3 separate regions of the Homo sapiens genome follow, and regions 2 and 3 are each linked to region 1. Evidence: promoter capture Hi-C in human tissues and cell types (Jung and others, 2019). All regions are on one chromosome and are shown on one strand. The core of a region is centred on a gene start or on the middle of the fragment in contact, and the rest is flanking DNA. Distances in the headings are between cores, read along the strand shown.

Region 1 (4,419 bases), core at 959-3,458:
ACACAGGCCCCCGGCAGAGGGGGCGCGGAAGAAGGGGTGGGGAGAGGGTAGAGAAAAATACAGCGACTTCGTTGCCCAGACTCTGAAAGGGGACAGTTAAAGCTTATGCCCCAACCATCCAGCTGTTCGCAGGCCGCTAGTCACTCCTTCCACCCCGCCCGCCCGGACCTCACGCCAACCCCCAGCCTCTCCCGCGGCCGGGGGCTTAGTGCTCCTAGTGGCTGCGTCCTCCGCCTCCAAAGTTACGGAGTTTGCGAATCGATTTAGACACTTAAAATAAAAAAAATTTAAAAAAAGCAAAAGGCAAATAGCTCCATTAATCCCCCAAAGCCTTCTCCCATCTGCTGGAACTAGCTGGTGCTGGGGCTTGCATAATGAACAAGGCAAACCCGAAAGTTGACGAAATCAGGGTGCTTGGAAGTGAGGGCGCGCGAGGAGGGGGCTCGGGCCCCCGGAGTCCACGCCAGCCAGGGCAAGGGGCTCAATCTGCAGCGATGGCCACGGCCCCGGGCAGGGAGAAGTGGTGGCCAGAGAAAGGGATGAGGTGGGTAAAGGGGCGGGGGCAGCTGAGGTCCCAAATCCAGGGACGGCGAAGCTCTGGGAAAGCGAGGCGGCCGCTCCAAGCAAGGCTTTTGTTCTCGCCCTCCCCTCACTCCACCTCCCTCGTCTCCTTTTCGCGAGTCGTACGAGTTGCAGGCGGCACTCACTCTGACCCTCCCTCCTTCACACACGCGCGCTCGGGCTCACACACGCCCCCCTCCCCTTTCGGGCTCGCCTGCCCCTGTTTACCAAAAAGCTAGCACCTGGAATCCGAGGGGTGCCATGGACCCTCTCCCCAAACCCGAAGATTTCGGGGCCACGGGCTCCCAGGCTACGTGTCTCAAGTCCGCCTCAGTCACCAGCGGGAGGAGGCGGCCAGAGGGTGAGGGAGCAGAGTCACACACACACACACACACGCTCACACACACACGAACACGCTCAGACCCACACCTGTGCTGAGCCCAGCGCCCCTTCTCCGTGTTCCAAGCCGAAGTTGGCTTCCCGGTGACATCCCCCAGCGGAGAGGCTGGGATGCGGGGAGCGGGGACCGTGGGGAGCGCCATTGCCTGGGGGAAGGTGGGGAGGAGAGAGCAGGGAGAGCGAAGCCCCGAGGGGAGGGCGAAGGGGAGGCAGCCCACCTGGACATGTGCTCCCTTTGGGGCCGGTGCGCTTTCTCCAGCCCCAGCTTGGTGAAGATGCCCACGAGCACCATGACGGCCACCACCCCGCAGATGATGTAGACGATCAGGTTGGTCTTGTCCTTGGTGGGGTCGTGCAAGGGGTCGTCCTTGCGGGCGGGGGGCTTGCCGGTGTTGAGCCAGAGCGGCGTGTCGTAGTTGGTGCAGGTGCTTTGGTTCAGTCGCCGCTTCTTAAACGTGCAGCAGAACCGGAAGCCACAAGTCCCGCAGCAGAAGATGAAGTCGCCCGAGCTGCAGTTGAACGGCGGGTCCCACTGGCCCATGACATCGAAGTAGCCCCGGCAGAAGTCCGGCGTGGGCGCCCGGGTCGGGGGCGCGTCCGATGCCTCAGCGCCCTCGCTGGCCTCTCCGGAGGCGGCCCCGGAGCGGTTGCCCCCCGCCAGCAGCAACACGCCGCCCAGTTGCGCCAGCTGCCCGTGTCCCGCTCGCTCCTGCGCCCGGCACACGCGGGCGCACAGCTCGGTGAGGAAGCAACCGAGGAGCAGCCGAAGGACGCGGCGCATGGTGTCTCCCAGCCCGGGCTCGGCCGCTCGGCCGCCGCTGGAGCCTCTGCGGCCGCCTCTCGAGGCGCGGCCGAAGCTGCCGAGGCTGCTGCCGGGAGCTGCGAGCCGCCGCGGGCCGCACATGCAGGGAGCGGCGCGGGGCGCTCGGTGGTCGGCGGCCACTGCGCTCGGCTCAGCCCGCGTTCGCCTCAGCCCGCGTTCGCCTCCAGCGCGCCGCGCGCCGAGGGGCCGGCCGGGGAGGAGCGCGCCCGGCCGGGCGGGGGGAGGATGAGCGGGGTCAAGCGCGGGGTGCAGGTCCGGCCGGCCACTGGGTGAGGCGGGGGTGGAGAGCAGAGGAGAATCGGGCTGGCAGCGCCTAGCCTTGGCCGGCAGCCCCGGACTGGCCGCCCCTAGCCCTCTCGCAGTATCCCTCTCACCTCACCAGCTCGCCAAGTGCGCTGAAGAGAGCGAAGCGACACTTGTGGAATGAAGGGAGGGCAGGAGGGAAGGGGGAGGGGGAGGAGGGCGGGCAGAGGAGGCGCGGGTGGGGGGGGGCGGGCGCGAGCTCTAGAGGGGCGGGGGCGCGGGGAAGAGGTGACTAGAGCGGGAGCTAGCTGGGGGGCGTGCAGAGCTGAGCCAGGCGAGCGGACGGGGAGGAGCGAGCTCGGCAGCAGCCGAGGCTAGAGGAGCCGCTCGGATTTCCAGGCAGGTGGAAAACCGCGGCAGGACCTCCCGCGCCCTCTCTGGGTAGGAGGCGCGGCTCAGCCCTGTCCAGAGCGCAGAGGCGGCTCAGCTCGTAGCTTTTTCACCGGTGCGTGTGCAGGAGCGGCGGCCGAAATCTGTGCATCAGGGGAAGGATGACTCGGAGAGGATGGGGACAGACTAAATGGCTTTCACTCCAAGACAGACTGGGTGCAGTCTGGTCAGGATCGCCCCTCCCAGGCGTGCGGGGCCTCCTTGCCCTTCCCGGCTGCGCCCTCCAGCCCTGAGCGCAACCCGCATGGCTCAACTCTCTGGGCCCAAGCAAGGACCCAGGCGGAGCTGGGAAGGACAGGTGGCAAGCCCCTGAGCCAGGGATAAGCACCCTCCGGGGGAGAGGGGCTCGGGATGAACGAATCAAAGAAGGTCGGGGGTAAGAGGGGACAGCCGAACAAGGCCGAGGCTATGGCGTGTCCTGGAAGGTCTTTCCTTGGAAGTCCCCCAGCCTCTCGAACCTGCCGCTTTCTGTCCCTCTTCGCCCCCGCAGCGTTTTCTGCGCTCCACAGGAGGGAACACCGCGGCGCCGCCTCTGCGCTCCCGGATCTGGCGCAGCGCAAGGCCTGGGCACCCAGCCTCAGCCACCCTCCCGGACCTGGAGCCCGCGCATCGGTCTCTGGAGCTGGCTGGCCCCTGTCCCCACGGATCCCCCCGGAAATCCTCACCGGGGGCTGCAGAGCTCTGCCTTGCTTCCTCAGCTTCCAGCCTCCCGTCTCCTCTGTGTTTCCAAATCTGCCCTCTCTCTCCTAGCGAATTCCAGCTCCCCGGAGGCCCTCTCTCATTTCTCCCACCTCTTTCTCTCCTCTGCTTGAATTTGACTCCAGTAGCCCCAAAACAGGATTTGCACCAAAGCTGCTACACCAAATTTAGATCTCCCCACGCCCCGGCGTTTTGTTTTTTAATTGCATTAACTAAGTATACACTTTGCAGGCTGCTAGGCGATTTGCAAGGAGATAATGTTTCCACAACCCTCCTCTCCACTTGGCTGCAGTCAAGGGCTTCTCAGGGCATCTTCAGAGAACGAAAAGTTGGGCGACATGTAAAATGGTTTACTAGGGTCCCCTGAATTGAGAAAGGGTGGGAGGATTTATTGGGACTCTGTTGCAAGTTTTCTCCAAATGAGAAGTTTGGCTAATCGCCCCTTCTCTTTGAAAAAAAAAGTCACATTTTGATGTTTCAAAAAAGATTTGCAAACACACAGCAAGACATTGACAGGGCATACCCAGGAGTATTATATTCCAAACCCATCTGGGGAAGGTATGAACACGTTTAATCCAGATTCACCAGATTCATTATAATAGAATCCCCAAAATAGGAGAGTATGGAAAGTCTGTCATGACTGGCAACCCACGCCCACCACCACCTTGTGAGTCCTACAAACACAAGCACTGGTGTGTGAGAGCTAATGAGAGCTGACATTTATTCAGTGCCTGCAACATACTCACTAAGCTTGCTTTTTCTAAAAGCAGCTCCTCAAGAAAGCTTAGAGCAGTGCCCAGCGTATAGCAGACAGTCTGGAAATATTTGCTGAACCACCGAGTGACTGGTTTCATGTAACTCTCTCTCCCTTAGGTAATAGTACCAGGCCCACACAACAGAGGGAGAGAATGAGCCCCAAAGCAGTTAAACCAGTTGCCCAAGTAGCTCTGCCAAATGAGTGCCAGAATTGACATTTGACCCAAGAAATTTGAGTCCAGAAACTGCCCTCCAGCCACTACATGAAATAGGCCTCCAAACTTTCTGTCTACCTCCTACTATATTATGTATTTGCGTTTTCGTCTGTTTGCCTGCACTGAGATGTGAACTGTGTAATGGAGAGGGCCTCGACTCCCATACCATGTCCCCAGCCCCTAGAACCCAGGCATACGGAGCTGCCTTGCGGGTCCATGGCTGCGCCCTCCAGCCCTGTGCGCAACTCCAGGGATTTGAGCCTTTGGGGTTGT
Region 2 (4,419 bases), core at 924-3,423, 95 kb before region 1:
AATTAGTCAAGCATGGGGGCCCATGCCTGTAATCCTAGCTACTCAGGAAGACCGAGGTGGGAGGATCGCTTGAGCCAGGAAAGTAGAGATTTCCATGAGCCACGATCGCACCACTGCACTCCAGCCTAGCCAACAGAGCGAGACATTGTCTCAAAAATAAATAAATAAGAATAAGTGATTTATTTAGCAGAAGGTGCTATGAAAAACATCACAAAGACATTAGCAGTACCATGAACTTAAAGAAAGTCTGTGAACCTTTACCCCAAGGGATGGTAGAGCTACATACCAAAAGGAGGCTGGGTCATGAATTACCACATCGGGAAAAGCTGTTTACCAGCCAAGAACACCTGCCTCAAAGTGCCACATGAGCAAGAAATAAATGTCAATTGTCTTTGAGACATTACACATGTTAGTGCTTATTTTTCTACAGTGGTACAGCCTACCTTAACTAATGCATGGACCTTCCAGGCTCTATGAAGTAAACCTGCTTCCCTATATGTTCCTCTTACTATCAGAGAGAAAATGAAGAATAGTCCAGAAACTAGGCGTGTTCAGCTCTAAGAAAATATTATATTTGGGTGGCAGGATACATTATCCCAACAAATATGTACTGAGCATTACTTTGTCTTATGTACAGGTACCGCAGATACAACAGTGAATAAAATACGGACCCAGTCTATAGTTTTCTCTTCTGGTGGAAAGGAAGAGACATAATCAAACACAATGCATTCTATCCTATTACACGCCGTGTATAACATGGTGTCTGGACGAGAAGGCACCGTTTAAGCTGAGTCTTGAAATATGCAAGCTTCTCAGGTGGATGATTATCTAGAGATATATCTAGAGGCAGAACAAGTTATGTACAAATGTGTGTACACAGAGGTGAAGGGCCTCAGTGAGTGAGCACCATGAAGGATATTTGGCAAAAACCATGTGGTGAGGCCAGATGGGAAATCAGAGTCCAGATGATGAAGGGCCTTAAATTTTAGGTTAAGGCTGGGTATGATGGCTCACACCTGAAATCCCAGCACTTTGGGAGGCTGAGGTGGGCAGATCACCTGAGGTCAGGAGATCGAGACCAGCCTGGTCAACATGGTGAAACCCTATCTCTACAAAAATACAAAAATTAGCCAGGTTTGATGGTGGGTCCCTGTAATCTCAGCTACTGGCGAGGCTAAGGTGGGAGAATTGCTTGAACCCGGGAGATGGAGGTTGCAGTGACCTGAGATCGCACCATTGCACTCCACCTTGGCCAACAGAGCGAGACTGTCTAAAAAAAAAAAAAAAAACTAGGTTAAGCCTAAACTGGAAACATGTCAAATGTCGTCAACAGGAGACTATATAGATAATTGCAGTATACTATGGAATACTACTCAGCAATAAAAGGAATGAATTACCAAGACAAACAGCAACATGGAAGAATTCAAAGATGTCCTGCCAAGCAAAAGAAGCCAGGCACAAAGGGCTATATATGTTGTGACTCCAGATATGGGATGTTCAGGACCATGCAAAACTACTGTGAAAGAAATCAAAACAGTGGTTACCTCTGAGGGATGGGTGGGGCTGAATGAAAAGAAGCATGAGGGAATTTGGGGGGTGATGAAAATGCTCTTCCTCTTGATAGAGGAGTTGGTTGCAGGGCTATATGCATGTTTCAAAACTTATTGATTTATATACTTAAGATATGTGCATCTCACTGTATGTAAATTATACTGATAAAAACTAGTCTAGCCTAAGGATTTGGCAGTTGGGGGCTGCAGAAGTGAATTTCATGCAAGCTGAGTGGTTTTATTCCCCAAAGGACTTGGGTGACTTATATAAAGCTAATTTTGGCATCCATCTTTTTCGAATTTTCTTAGCCACGAAACTTTTTTTAAAATTAAAATATTATTCACCATTCCAAAATACCAGACCTAGAGGAAGCTGTTCTGTTTGAACTACAGATAAGAAATTAAAGGCCCCTTGGAGGCTCTACCCTCAAGATCTCCCCTTCAACTCTATGGGACCCTTGAGACACATCCAAAGACCCTGAGGACCCATAGATCCCAGGTTAAAAACCACTGATCCAGCGGAGCCAGCAAGACTCCTGAGTTCGGTTGCACAGTTGAACACTGCACAAATCCAGACTACGATATGAATTGTAGGAGTGGAGATGTGCAATGTAGTCACCCTGGGGGCCATGCTGGTAAAGTGGGCAAGTCAGCAAGTCAAGCTGACCTGGGAAAGATGGTAAGTGGTAACAAGCACTCAGCCAGAGCATCAGGCTCAGGAGGGTGTTCTGGGGGCCTGTGCCAAACTGAGGAACAGAGCCCTGTTTAAAGGGGACAGCTGCTACTCACCTCCAGCTGATGGTTGCTACGTGGGAAAATGGGCTTGGCACTGCCAGATCTTCACATTTTTTTTCTTCAAGAGAAGCCAAAAATCTGGATCTTATATAAAGCCTCTCGGTTTTTCAATGCTGGAAATTAATTTAATTTGAAAAAAACACATTGTGTAGCTCAAATCAAACATATCTGCCAGACAGATCCACCTTCTAGGCCACCAATTTGCAACTTTTGGTTGTAGACTGTCATCAAAAAGCATCTGAGCTTTTGGCAACAGATAAAAAGAGGCACGTGTACATCACCCCTTTGTGTCCTGGATCCAGAAAACTGAGCTGTCTGCTTTCTGAGAGCAAAGAGACTTCATTTACACCCTCCTTCAATTTCCAGGGAATTATGCAACAAGCATTACCAGGGACATGGGCACAAACCACAACTCAAGAAGCACCATCAGAGCCGTGGGTATGTCCATGCTTTGGCCAATGATGTGCCGGAGTGACCACTATTATGAAAGCAGGAATTTCAAGACTTTCGTACACGCATCTTGACCTCAAGCCTCTCAATATAGGCAGCACTTAAATGGATAAATGAGATAAAACTGCCTAATTAAAATCTGAAGGCAGAATTTTCTTTATAAATAAATACCTAGAAATGAATGCAAACATGTTTTGATCTAATTGTCTTAAAATCTTTCTGTTGTAGGATTACTTTGAGAATTCCTCTGAGGCTTAGGGACCTTAACAGTGGGAAGGTGGAAGGAAATTCAGAATCCGAGCACATCCTTTCTGCTGGGCTGAATGCCAGATGAACATTCAAAAGACACCCTCATTTGCGTTTAAGACATCCCTCCTTAGGCCCATGTCTCTCAAAGTGTGGTCTATAGAACCCCACCATTGAATCACCAAGAAGAATCTTAAAATGTAAATTCTTGAGTTCTACCAGATGCCTATTGAGTCAGCCTCTCCATGAGTGTGGCCAAGGCACCTGCTTTCTCAGCAAGCATCAAATCACATTAAAGTTCAAGAAGTACCAGCCCAAATAGCTAAAAAGAATGAATAAGACCTGCTGTTTGACAGCTCAGTGGGGAGACTGTAGTCAATAATAACTTAATTGTACTTTTAAAACTAATTAAAAGAGTGTAAATGAATTGTTTGTAATGCAAAGGAGAAATGCTTGCGGGGATGGATTCCCCATTTACCTTGATGTGATTTTTACACCTTGCACACATGTTTCAAAATATCTCATGTACCCCATAAATATAGACACCTACTATGTACCCATAAAAAGTAAAAGTTTAAAAAAATTAATTAATTTTTTTATTTTAAAAAAAAAAATACTGGCCCAAATAAGCTTATCCACTCCTGTGGCTTTGAATATTGTTTACATGCGATAAAAAAGCATATCTTTAGCCCAGAACTCTCTTGTGAGCCCAAAACACATATATTCATCTGTGGACTTGATATCTCCACTTGGGAACCTCACAGGTATCTCAGATTGACAAGACTAAAACTGAATTCTTGGTCTTCTTAATCATAGTAAATGGGACCTCTATCCACCCAGCTGTCTATGCCAAAGATACGGACATCCTTGCCACCTCCATTTTCCTCACCCATCACATCATATACCTGACCATGACCAACGGATTACACCAGTCCTACCTTCATTAGGCTCAGTTTTTGCTGCAGTAACAAACAACCCTGAAATCTTAGTGGTTGGATACCACAGTGAGTCAACTATAGTTCTGCTGGGCTTATTCTCAGAATGTAGGTCAAATTCAGGTCCTCGCCACCTGTTTCCTATTTCCAGAAGGCAGGCTGAAGAACCACCCACCACCACTACCACCACCACCATAAATCTGGGGCTTGTCATTCTCATGGCAAGTAACAGGAACACAAGAAGCCAGTGGACACATACAAGGCCTCTGAAAGCCTCTGCTCAGTTCTGCTCATATTACAATCACCAAATCACGTCATGGGGCTAAGCCCAGCATCAGTGGAGTAAGGAAGTGTCTTTCAAAGGAGAGGAGACATTGTTCAATGTCACTGAACAATGACAGCCTCAGTGACCTCCAAAACATATTCCAGGTCCATTCACTTCT
Region 3 (4,419 bases), core at 517-3,016, 75 kb before region 1:
TCACTGCCTAATATTTCAAATTATTTACCATCTACATGGAGAATAATTACATTCTGCATGCTTCAAATAATATTCAGACATCAGTTACAATCAACATCTACTCCTTGGGTTACGTAGTAGTCTTCCTTCTCTATATAAATCGGCTATCATAATTTGATGAAACAGGGCTGCACTTATGAAAATTCTTTCCCAGGGGAGACTAGAAGTCATGCTCATTTCTTCCAGAATAAACAGTAAGCTGTTGGATGATTCTATACCATGTCAGTGGTGCCATTTTGGTAGATGATGGTAGGGTCTATACAGGGGTCAAATTCAGGTTTCCATTTTATTTTCTGGAGAAAAGCATCCCATTGTTGTGTCATCTGCCCATTTCCAAGTACTCCCTTTCTGTTTGTTTCTCTTGCCTGTCTTTGCACCAACTAGTCCCTCTGCAAAAATCCTACCTCTCCCCCATCTTTATTCACCCACTTCACTTCTCATTCTTTTTTTCTTATGCTTTCTTTTTTTTAAAATTTTAAGTTCCAAGGTACATGTGCGGGATGTGCAGGTTTGCTACATAGGTGAATGTGTGTCATGGTGGTTTGCTGTACAAATCATCTCGTTACCTAAGTATTAAACCCAGCATGCATTAGCTATTTTTGCTGATGCTCTCACTCTCCCCCCTCCCCACCCTCAATAGGCCTCAGTGTGTGTTGTTCCCCTCCCTGTGTCCATGTGTTCTCATTGTTCAGCTCCCACCTATAAGTGAGACCATGCGGTGTTTGGTTTTCTGTTCCTGCATTAGTTTGCTGAGGATAATGGCTTCCAGCTCCATCCATGTCCCTGCAAAAGACATGATCTCATTCCTTTTTATGGCTGCATAGTATTTTCCATGGTGACAGGTACCACATTTTCTTTATCCAGTCTATCACGGATGGGCATTTGGGTTGATTCCATGTCTTTGCTATTGTGAATAGTGCAGTAATGAACATACACGCGCATATATCTTCATGATAGAATGATTTCTATTCCTTTGGGTATATACCCAGTAATGGGATTGCTGGGTCAAATGGCATTTCTGGTTCTAGGTCTTTGAGGAATTGCCACACTGTCTTCCACAGTGGTTTTAACTTCTCATTCTTTACAACATTGCTCAAATGTCAGTCCCCAAGAAGTCTTACCTGATTCCCCTAAGTTGAACTGTGCTCTCCCCATCACCACTTCTTCCCCCTATCATGAATTCCCTGAGAGCAAGGGCCATTTCTTTCATTTACGCAACCCCAGTGCCTACTATAGGATTATCCACCCAGGAACCCAGCCCAACCGAGCCTCCATTGTCTGGAACACAGCCCGTCTCCAAGACAGGGGGAAGAGACTGCAGTGAGTCACACAGTGGCTCTTAAAGGCTTCCATTCACATTTCACTGGCAACAGTAAGTCATATGGCCAAACCTCAGGGGCCTTGGAAGAAAAGTGTCCAAGGCATTCTCTGCTCGCACTGCTCCCTCTTTTTTCATGTCTCTCAAGCTTACAATGTTCTCCTCCTCCAGAGAAACCACGCAACCCTCAATGTTCTTTTGATTCATTGTTAAGTGCCACTTCTTTCTAAAAGCTGCCCCTGGCTCACTTTCAGCCACTCTCTGAGGTCCCAAATATTTCTTCCCTCTTCCACCATGCTGTTTCATTTCCTCTGCTTGGGGTGACATTCCAGGCAAAGCCACAGGTGAAATTAGGGCAGGGCTAACTCAACCATGATGTTTTGCTGTCTGCCACTGTCACACTCACCTGCTTGAAACCTGCTTGTTACTTACTTACCCCCTGCAAGGCACACTCGAAATAGAAAGCAACATCTACACCTTAGAACACCTAAAATGATTCAGAGAGATTCTGAGAATGAGGAAAGTACCTTCAGCCTGAATATCTAGAGTAACTGAATTTCAGAGGAATTCAGTGTCTTTCCAAATCCCCATGATTCTGTTGACACAGGAGCGGAATAGGAATTAGTCAGAAAGCAATGCTCAGTCTCAAACCTTTCAAGCTAAAGATGATGCACCCATGTCAATGGCTCAAAAGAACAGAAGAAAATCCAAAGAGCCACACCCATAAAAAATTAACGAGTTTGGCCAGGCATGGTGGCTCATGCCTGTAATCCCAACGCTTTGGGAGGCTGAGGCAGGCAGATCACTTGAGGCCAGGAGCTCAAGATCAGCCTGGCCAACATGGTGAAACCCTGTCTCTACTAAAAATACAAAAAAAGTTAGCTGAGTGTGGTGGCGCACACCTGTGGCTCCAGCTAGTCGGGAGGCTGAGGCACAAGAATCTCTTGAACCCGAGAAGCAGAGGTTACAGTGAGCCGGGATCACGCCACTGCACTCCAGCCTGGGTGACAAAGCAAGACTCTGTCTCAAATAATAATAATAAGTTTATTTTTCTAGAGCAATAAGTAGGAAAGACAACTCATGAATTTGCAGCCAACCCATGATTGGTTCCAACATGTTGCCAAGTGAAACTAATTGAGAATCACAGTAAAAGTTTGATTAGTCAGGATGCCCCGGGTCATCAGATTTGCTGATGAATTAAAATTTAACTAAAAGTTTCTGTTGGCTTAATGTTCACTGGCAAAAAAAAAAAAAATTGCTGTTCAAATAAATGAAGCTATTATCCTTCTTTATCACTCAGGCCACTAAGCATGGCTTCAAGTCCTTCAAGGATGACCAAGAATCTTTCCAAATATCTGGGCCATCTTCCCTCTTTTTCCAGTCCCCCCTCCCAGCCCCACCTACAATTTCCATCTTAAATTCACCAATTCCTGATTAGGCCAGGCCTATTCATAGTGACATGCCCTTACCCCCCCCGCCCCCGTCCCACCCCACCCATTTACCATTGCCTGAATGCCTTTCACTGGTCATTATCACCTAAATATGTTTATTAATCCTTAAACACACAACTTGCATAAATCCAATTATTCTGACAGAGCTAATAACTCTATTCCTTTTTCCTTTCTTTCTTTTTATGGAGTCTCACTCTGTTGCCCGGGCTGGAGTGCAGTGGCGCAATCTCAGCTCACTGCAACCTCCACCTCTGGGTTCAAGCGATTCTCCTGCCTTAGCCTCCTGAGTAGCTGGGATTACAGGTGCCAGCCACTACACCTAGCTATTTTTTTGTATTTTTGGTAGAGACAGGGTTTCACCATGTTGGCCAGGATGGTCTCGAACTCCTGACCTTGTGATTCACCGTGAGCCACTGTGCCCAGCCAATACCCTATTCTTGAACGCCCTCCCCAACACTTTGATTATGTGAACATAATAGCTGTATGTGAACTGCCCCTCTTCCACTGGGTACAGTTTTAGTGGAATTATCAGCAAAGATAACAACACACACTTAAACAAAAGCCCCTCAAGAGCAGGGAATGTTGCTCAGATAAGTAAACACAGTGCCCGGTCACAACAGGTGCTCAACAAATATTTGTCAGATGGATTAATTAATCAATTAATTAAAATATTGTGCATGTAGGTTAACAAGGTACCAATGCTGGAATCTCAGCTGGCTCCATAGCAACCCTGAAAGTTTATATAAATATAGAGAGATAGATATAGATACAGATATGGATGTGATAGATGTAAATGCAGATAAATATAGAGTTATAGATGTAGACATATATAGTTTCAGGTTCAGAATAATTTTCATAATAAGCAACCTAAGAATCCCAGTGAACTGAAGATTCTGATAAATTACAATTTCACATAGACTTAGAAATCACTTGCTAGATGGGAGGCCGAGGCAGGTGGATCACCTGAGGTCAGGAGTTCAAGACCAGCCTGGTCAACATGGCAAAACCCCGCTCTACTAATAATAAAAATTAGCTGGGCATGGTGGTGGGTGCCTGTAATCCCAGCTACTCAGGAGGCTGAGGCAGGAGAATCGCTTGAACCTGGGGGTTGGAGGTTGCAGTGAGCCAAGATTGCACCACTTCACTCCAGCCTGGGCGACAGAGCGAAACTCCGGAAAAAAAAAAAAAAAAAAAAAAAAAAACCACCAGAAATCACTTGCTAGCCATGGCTTATATGGACATGAAAGTCATATTCTTAATTTTTAGAAACTATAGTCTGTGTTTTTAGGGAGTCTTGGTCATTTTTGCCCGCCTGGTTTCCATGCCTCCTTCTTTGGGTAAGAACATGTCAATTTTCCTTTAGGGAACTACCTCTCTTCCATTGGATAAAATTTTAGAGAAATTATCAATAAAGATGTCCTGCCCTCTCCTGGCCAAGGAGTGGCCCAAGCTTGTCCAGATATACGCTTTCTCCCCATAATTTGAGTCATGAGCAGTGAATACAAGGACGGACGCTAGATAGGACTTCATTGCCGTTCTCTAGGGACCTTGGAACTCCCTGGTCCCTTTTCTTCCTAGGCCTTCCACTTTCTAATTGGTCTCTTTGGCTTA

The links. The method cuts DNA at HindIII sites, captures the fragments that hold promoters and counts their contacts. A contact is called where the count stands out against the background at its distance.
Region 2: a fragment that was not itself captured here is called in contact with the fragment with the promoter of SHISA9 in region 1 in 5 of the 25 tissues and cell types used here (dorsolateral prefrontal cortex, hippocampus, lymphoblastoid cells and 2 more).
Region 3: a contact is called between a fragment that was not itself captured here and the fragment with the promoter of SHISA9 in region 1, in 5 of the 25 tissues and cell types used here (dorsolateral prefrontal cortex, lymphoblastoid cells, mesendoderm cells and 2 more).

The regions. Positions count from the first base shown.
Region 1 is chr16:12,899,387-12,903,805 of GRCh38, reverse strand. SHISA9 (shisa family member 9) reads right to left here and starts at 2,208. Exons shown (of 5, transcript NM_001145204.3): 1 at 1,179-2,208. The coding sequence starts at 1,741. The HindIII fragment of the contact is 6,671 bases long and covers 1-4,419 here.
Region 2 is chr16:12,994,281-12,998,699 of GRCh38, reverse strand. All of the region lies in intron 2 of SHISA9 (shisa family member 9), which reads right to left. Among named protein-coding and RNA genes, the nearest start is that of SHISA9, 95 kb to the right of the region's middle. The HindIII fragment of the contact is 3,962 bases long and covers 193-4,154 here.
Region 3 is chr16:12,974,071-12,978,489 of GRCh38, reverse strand. The region is part of intron 2 of SHISA9 (shisa family member 9); the gene reads right to left. Among named protein-coding and RNA genes, the nearest start is that of SHISA9, 75 kb to the right of the region's middle. The HindIII fragment of the contact is 7,727 bases long and covers 1-4,419 here.